Regions from separate parts of the Homo sapiens genome. Here region 2 is linked to region 1. Evidence: promoter capture Hi-C in 16 types of primary human blood cells and fetal thymus (Javierre and others, 2016). All regions are on one chromosome and are shown on one strand. Each heading gives the region's core, a stretch centred on a gene start or on the middle of the fragment in contact. The rest is flanking DNA. Distances are from core to core; before and after follow the strand shown. Region 1 holds the start of AURKB (aurora kinase B). Region 2 has its middle 12 kb from the start of ODF4.

Evidence for each region. Contacts are between HindIII fragments. The CHiCAGO score rates a contact against its expected background, and 5 or more counts as called.
Region 2: a contact is called between a fragment that was not itself captured here and the fragment with the promoter of AURKB in region 1, in 1 of 17 cell types (megakaryocytes). The highest score is 5.5, in megakaryocytes.

The regions. Positions count from the first base shown.
Region 1 is chr17:8,208,866-8,212,836 of GRCh38, forward strand. It overlaps AURKB (aurora kinase B), which reads right to left and starts at 1,710. Exons shown (of 9, transcript NM_004217.4): 1 at 1,665-1,710; 2 at 1,312-1,384. The coding sequence starts at 1,359. RefSeq lists enhancers at 942-1,601, 1,163-1,212. The HindIII fragment of the contact is 9,276 bases long and covers 11-3,971 here.
Region 2 is chr17:8,325,609-8,329,579 of GRCh38, forward strand. No RefSeq gene overlaps it. Among named protein-coding and RNA genes, the nearest start is that of ODF4, 12 kb to the right of the region's middle. The HindIII fragment of the contact is 1,610 bases long and covers 1,176-2,785 here.

The sequences.
Region 1 (3,971 bases), core at 460-2,959:
TCTCCTAAAAAGCTTAGTTTATTAAGGCTTAGATAAGATGCTTGAGGCCTTGAATGTTATAGCAATAACCAGGATTTACACTTTTGCAAGAACAGGCTTTAAGGACACTAAGAGCTACCCTGATGGCCCTGGACCACTTCTCACTTTCAACTTCTTCATTTTTTTTTTTTTTTGAGATGGAGTCTCGCTCTATTACCCAGGCTGGAGTGCAATGGTGCCATCTCGGCTCACTGCAACCTCCACCTCCCAGGTTCAGGCAATTCTCCTGCCTCGGCCTCCTGAGTAGGTGGGATTACAGGCACATGCCTGGCTAATTTTTGTATTTTTAGTAGAGACGGGGTTTTACCATGTTGGCCAGGCTGGTCTCGAACTCCTGACCTCAGGTGATCCACCTGCCTCAGCCTCCCAGTGCTGGGATTACAGGCGTGAGCCACCTACCTGGCCTCACTTTCAACTCTCAAAATAATAGGTACATTTTCTTTTAGGAGTGACTAAGGTAAAAGTGACAATGGTTTCTCATTCAGACTCCATTCCTGACAGCCTCACTCAGTGCTCCATGAGGGAGGGAGCTGATGTACAAGGGAACAGACAGACTCTCCAGGAAGCAAGAGCTCCAAAAACAGGGAGCAAAGCCTGTGCAGGGCCCCTTCCTTCTTCTGCAGCCAAGAGAAGAAAGCCCCTAGGCCCCAAATAGTGATATTGGTACCAATCTACAAATAAGCAAGTTGAATAAAATACAGTCCAGAAATAGACCCACATATATGTGGGAATTTATATATATAATAAAGGTGGCATTTCAAATCAGAGAGGAGGCCCTTCAATGAAATCTGTCTGGACCATTGGGAAATAAGTCAATTTAGATCCATTTAGATTCTTACCTCAATTTAGTCATTAATTCCAAATTGTAATTTAGACTTGCCCTGGGCCTTTTAAACTGTAACTTTATATCCTTTTAGAGTCTATTTCTATTTGCTGTCTAGTTTTTTTTTTTTCAGGATATGGATTGGGAATCATGGCCTGAAGGCCAGGCCCTGCCTGCTCAGTCCCAGATATCATTTGTATGTGACGAGCCCTGCAGAGGTCCTCACCAGCTGGGAGTCACTGGCTGGTCAGATTCACGTTGGCAGCACCTGACAGGATGTGGCTACAAATGACCAGAGCGGGTTCTGTCGTCAAACTTGGGACCCGTACTTTGGAGCATAACGGGGAAGAAAGTGCTTAAAGGATTGCTCATTGCAGGATCTCAAGTTTCCCAGCAGGAACTCGCCATGCGGGGTCATGGGGGCGCAGGGACGGAGGGAAGGGCCTTACCGTCTGTCGGCCGTAGGGCCAGGGGTAGGAGTTCTCCTTCTGGGCCATCCTTAGAGAGAAAGGGGGAGGAGAGCTGGGCGGAGAAGGGAAACAGCCGTGAGAAGCAGAGAAAAAGAGAGAGAGAGGGAGGGGTTGGACCGATCGAGCCGGAAGCGCTAGCCCGAGCTGGTAAAAGGGAGCAGGTCAGCACACTAGCCCCAATCTGGGCGCTGGTCTCACCGCCCCCGCCCTGCTATCGTCCCTACCTCCTTCCAGCCCTGCGGCGTGCGCGCAGGCCAGCCCAACGGACCCTCTGATCTACCTGATCATCTGCCCACTCCCGGCGCAAGGCCTGCGACAGGAGGCCAGCTCACCTGGGGTCCAAGGCACTGCTACTCTCCCGGCCGCCCGCAAACAACTGAATCTGCCACGCCGCGCCCTGGCCAAGGACTTTTCAAATCTCCCGCCCCGGCCCCATTGGGCAAGCTCGTCGCCCATGCCTAGTTCCCATTGGCTCGATGTCCTGTGACGTAAGTCATGGGAACCCAATGGAAGAGGCGGAATGAGAAGGGCTCACGCTTGGCTTCCAGTTTAGGAAAGTTTCCCCAAATTCCCCCAGTGAATTATCTTGCTTTTTCTTTTCTTTTTTTTTTTCCTTTTTTGAGACAGGTCTCTCTCTGTCGCTCAGGCTGGAGTATAATGGTGCTATCTGGGCTTGCTGCAACCTCTGCCTCCCGGGTTCAAGCGATTCTCGTGCCTCAGCCACCCGAGTAGCTGGGATTACAAGCGCCCGCCACCACGCCTGGCTAATTTTTGTATTTTTATTAGAGACGGGTTTTCGCTGTGTTGGCCAATCTGGTCTCGAACTCCTGTCCTCAGGTGATCCACCCGCCTCGGCTTCCCAAAATGCTGGGATTACAGGCGTGAGCCACCGTGCCCGGCCTTCTTCTTTTTATAAAAAAAATTAAATCTTTAATGTAACTGGAGTTTATCCTTATGCATGTATGAGCTGGGGTCTAACTTCTCTGCCCGATGGAGCGCCAGTTATGTCAACACCATTTGTTAAACAAACTGCCCCAACAGAATTTAAATGCTGCCCTTGATATATAATGTTAGCATATTTACTTGTGTCTATTTCTAGACTTTGTATTCCGTTGTTTGCTCATTTGCCTGTGTGTTTATTCTTGTGTCATTACTATGTCGTTCTTAAAAGTTCTGACATTCCTGGGAGGAGTTTTTCCACCAATAGACCTTTCGTTGCAAGATCTCTGTTAGCTGCCGTGTTGTTTGGGCCCACTTTCATTTTTCCTCCTTCCTGCCACACTTCCTTCTTTTCTGCTCTTCCTAACCCTCAGATTTCATTACTGGGTTAAATAAATACATTTTTGGGCCTTCTATGAAATAACCAGTGGATATTTATTAAGTATGTACTGTCCAGCACTCTTCTCCTTTCTTCTAACACTCTATTTTTCCTTTAGGGGACCACCTGTCTCTCCAGTCTATGCAGTCGGTTTCTGTAGTAGTTTCTGTTGCTGACAACCCCAAATCCCTAGGTTGATGAAGACCTATTTAAATCTCACTTTTTTTTTTTTTTTTGAGATGAAGATTCGCTGTGTTGCCCAGGCTGGAGTGCAATGGCACAATCTCAGCTCACCACAACCTCCTCCTCCAGGGTGCAACTGATTCTCCTGTCTCAGCCTCCCGAGTACCTAGGATTATAGGTGCATGTGACCACGCCCGGCTAATTTTTGTATTTTTAGTAGAGACGGGGTTTCATCACATTGCTCAGGCTGGCCTCAGGTGATCCGCCCGCCTTGGTCTCCCAAAGTGCTTGGATTACAGGCGTGAGCCACTGCGCCCAGCTTTATTCCCACTTCTGAAAGCACTTAGAGTTTTGAGGATTTGAGAAGGAAACTGACTTCATTGCAGGTCCAGAAATGAGCCCCAATTAACTTATACTAATCAATACCTTTTATTCCAGATTATGGTTATTGGATCAGGCATAAGCCTGTGATTTAAGTGGGCCAGCTAGTGGGAATCAGTTTCTTGCTCAGAATGCTGGGCAGCTCAAGGAAACACTTAACGTTTACTGGTTTATCATAAAGTGTATTACAAATGATATAGATGAAAAGATGTATAGGGCAAGGTATGGAGGAAGAGATTTCTGGAAGTGAGCAGGGAAGCATGCAGCCCTCATTGCTGCTTCTAGTGCTACTGAAGGAAGCAGCTTGACATTGAAGCCTAACATTGCAGAAGGCAGAAGAGAGGCCTGGAAAGAACTTCAGGACTTGATGACATTGTTGAGCCTCTACATGCCTACGTTAGCACTTTTCTTACATGAACAATAGAGAAGATTATTATTCAGCTAATATCCTTTCTGAATGCATTCTAAATGCTATTTGCTGTTTAAGCATATTGTGTAGAAAAAACAAACCATGGCTAGGCTTGGCGGCTCACGCCTGTAATCCCAGCACTTTGGGAGGCTAAGGCGGCTGTATCACTTGAGCCCAGGAGTTTAAGATCAGCCTGGGCAACCTGTGAAACCCCGTCTCTACAAATAAAAAAAAAAAAAATTAGCCAGTATGGTAGTGTGTGCCTCTAGTCCAAGCTACTTGATAGGCTGAGGCAGGAGGATCAGCAGAGGCCGGAGGTCAAGGCTGTGGTGAGCCATGATTGCACCA
Region 2 (3,971 bases), core at 731-3,230, 120 kb after region 1:
AACATGGTGAAACCCCGTCTCCACTAAAAATACAAAAAATTAGCCGGGTGTCGTGGTGCCCGCCTGTAATCCCAGCCACTCGGGAGGCTGAGGCAGGAGGATCCTTTGAACCCAGGAGACAGTGGTTGCAGTGAGCCAAGATCGCGTGATTGCACTCCAGCCTGGGTGACAAGAGCGAGACTCTGTCTCAAAAAACAAAAAACAAACGAAAGACAAAGGGAGGACGGCTGCCAGGAAGACTCAGACCCAAGTAACCTTGGATATGAGCTCCATTAGGGCTTTGTTACAAGCAGGTTTTCAAAGGCAAAAAAGGGGGACAGGGAGTGGGCTGTGGGCTGATACAAAGTTGTTAGGAATTCTCATTGGTTTAAAGGAAGCTCTTTGATTAGTGATTGGCTATATACTGTTAAGCTATAGGGGGTGGGTTATAGTGTCCAGTGTGGCATTACCAGGTTAATTCATAGCTACTTATGGCAAGAGCAAGCCAATGCAAGCAGTTAAAGAGGTGAATACCTAGCTCAAAGGGGGTAATGGGATGTCACTGTTGTCTCATTTTAATTCCTCTCTGGCCCTGATTTTTTTTTTTTTTTTTGTCACAAGATTTGGCTTTGTCACCCAGGCGGGAGTGCAGTGGCACGATCTTGGCTCACTGCAGCCTCGAGCTCCTGGGCTCAAGCGATCCTCCTGCCTCAGCTTCCTGAGTAGCTGGGACCACAGGCAGGAGCCAACACACCCGACTAATTTCTGTATTTTTTGTAGAGACGGCGTTTTGCCATGTTGCCCAGGCTGGTCTGGAACTCCTGGGCTCAAGCGATCCTCTCTATGGGCCTGATAATTTTAAAAGCCTTGCCCCCCTCAGATAAAAAGTTTTTCTTTTCCTACAAGATAAGGCAGATAGTAAAGGGCACGGGCCTCTCTTTGAGCTGGCCTTCTGTGGGCTCCGGGTCAAGATCTTAGTGGCCAACATCGCAGATAAACGGGGGTGGGGGTTGCAATCATGCCCACAAGCAACAGAGGAAAGAGAGGAGCCTCGCCCTCTTCCCCCCACGCCCCGGCCCCCAAGCCTGCTCACTAGCTCTCTCCTCCTCCTTCCACCCGCAAGGAACCCTCCAGCCCACTTCCTGTGATCCTTTCCGGAGCCCTTCAGCCTGGCTGGCTCTCCAGCCATCTCGGAAAGCTTCTCTTTCCTAAACCCTCCATACTCGCAGGTTCAGCTACAGAGGTAACTGCAGGCTCAGGTTCTCCAGGGTGGCCAGCCCACCAGCCCACCGTCCCGGTGCAGCAGTGCCTCTCCAGCGACAGCTCCACCGCGAGCCTGGCGGGCTCCCGACCTTGCTCCCCAGCACGTCGTCTCCAAGCCACGGTCTCACCACCCTCCATCAGCCTCGGGCGACACCAAGGGGAACAGAGCGCTGGAGCTCCTCGAAGTCCTCCCGACCTTAGCGGGGCTCCGTTCATCCTCCCGGACGTGGCCAGGCCCCGCTCTGGCCCCGCGCCCGCCCCTCCCGCGGGGCTGCCCCTGTCTCTCTGCCGGAGACCCGGACTCAGTGAGTGAGCGCAGCGCGGCCATAGGGCTTCCTGCAGCGGGGTCTCAGCACGTCTTCTGGCTGGACTCTGGGGTCTCCTGGCCTGGCTGTGTCTCCTGGTTCTCAGCGCTCGCCTCCCACGCGGGGCGGAGTATGGGAGTGGGCTGCTCCCGCGGAAGAATCCTGGGGAAGTTGAGGCACTGGCTCCCGCTGTTCAGAACACTGCCCGACGTCCCCAGAGCTAGCCACTCCTCCTTCCCACCCACCCGCAGCACTCTCGAGGTCGCAACGGCAGTCACCAGGTCCCGGGGCCTGCGTTCAGCTGCTTGATCCGACTAGGTTTGGCTTCGGACCCGAATGGGTCAGCTCCACGCCCGATGGAGTTTTTCAAGCTGGTGCCTGCACGTGCCCCCGCCGCGGGGCATGAAGCCGTGGGCTGCGCCCAAACTGCCTCACAACCACCGCTGACCCGAAGCCTCTCTCACTCCGTCCACTGTTAGAAACCTGAAGCTGCCCTCTGTGAGAAAGCGTTGGGATTGAATCCAGACTTTTGGGGAACCTTAACAATAAAGAATACAAAATATTGACTAAAAATTGGATTTGAAAGTGACCCTGAGTTGTTGTTGTTGTTTTTGTTTTAGACGGAGTCTCACACTGTCACCCAGTCTAGAGTGCAGTGGCGTGACCTCGGCTCACCGCAACCTTCGCCTCCTGGGTTCAAGCGATTCTCCTGCCTCAGCCTCCCGAGTAGCTGGGACTACAGGCGTGCGCCACCACACTCGGCTAATTTTTTATATTTTTAGTAGAGACGGGGCTTCACCATATGGCCAGGCTGGTTTTGAACCCTTGACCTCATGATCTACCCCCATCGACCTCCCAAAGTGCTGGGATTACAGGGGAGGCACTGCGCCCAGCTACTCTTCCTTGATTTACGACAACCCTTGGTTATTGTGATTGGGTCGAGATGGGTATGTGTCCCAATTTGGATCAATGAGTTCAGAGACAGTTAATTCGAGACCCACCCAAGAGCCACTTGAATGAGCCATTCTCTCTTCCCCTGGACATTGCAGTGTGAGGATATAAGGTTTGGATCAGTGGCTGCCATTTTAGTGCAGTGAGAGGCAGCTTGGAGTTGCTGGGGAGGCCACTGGATACAGCCTGATGAAGGAGCCAACACCACAAAACTGGAAATGGAGAGACAAGGGGAAAGCCAGGTCCTTGTTATCATCACTTGAGTTCCAGGATCAAGTCTCATCTGAAGCTTTTATCTTGATTTTTCAGTTATTTTTGTTTGTTTGTTTGTTTGAGGCAGGATCTCGCACTGTTGCCCAGGCTGGAAGGAAGTGGCACGATCTCGGCCCACTGCAACCCTCTGCCTCCTAGGTTCAAGCTATTCTCATACTTCAGCCTCTCTAGTAGCTGGGACTACAGGCATGCGCCACCATGCCCAGCTAATTTTTTTTTTTTTTTTTTTTTTTTAGATGGAGTCACACTCTGTCACCCAGGCTGGAGTGCAATGGCATGATCTTGGCTCACTGCAACCTCTGCCTCCTGGGTTCAAGTGATTCTGTTGTCTCAGCCTCCTGAGTAGCTGGGATTGCAGGCGCCTGCGATCATGCCCCACTAATTTTTGTATTTTTAGTAGAAATGAAGTTTCACCATGTTGGCCAGGCTGGTCTCAAACTCCTGACCTCAGGCGATCTGCCCGCCTGGGCCTTACAAAGTGCTGGGATTACAGGCACGAGCCACTGAGACCAGCCTGGATTTTTCAGTTCTATAGGTCATTAAATTCCCTTTATCCCTTAAACCAGTTTGAATCTCCTTTCTTTTATTAGCTACAGAGTCCTAACTGATTCAGATAATCCACAATACAATTGTACTCTTAGCTATTCCAGAGAGGCCATTTATCTCACTGGCAGCTCTTCCTCTCCTGTGTGCCTTCCTGTTCAGACTCTGTGGATCACGCAATGAATTCCCAAATGGTAGGATGCAAATCTGAGGTGGGCAGGTCCACCTCAAGTCGGCCTGCTTGTTACAATAGGTAACTTCGCCAAAGTTGCTTCAATTTGGTCCTCATCATGGCTTGCCATTTTATTTAAGACGAGACCAGGCCGGGCGCGGTGGCTCACGCCTGTAATCCCAGCACTTTGGGAGGCCGAGGCGGGTGGATCACTTGAGGTCAGGAGTTCGAGACCAGCCTGACCAGTATGGTGAAATCCCGTCTCTACTAAAAATACAAAAATTAGTTTGGTGTGGTGGCACATGCCTGCAATCCCAGCTCCTTGGGAGGCTGAGGCAGGAGAATCGCTTGAACCCGGGAGGCGGAGTTTGCAGTGAGGCAACATGGCACCACTGCACTCCAGCCTGGGCAACAAGAGTGAAACGCTGTCTCAAAAAAAAAAAAAAAAAAAAAAAAGACTAGATTGGGCATTTAGAATGTCAGAG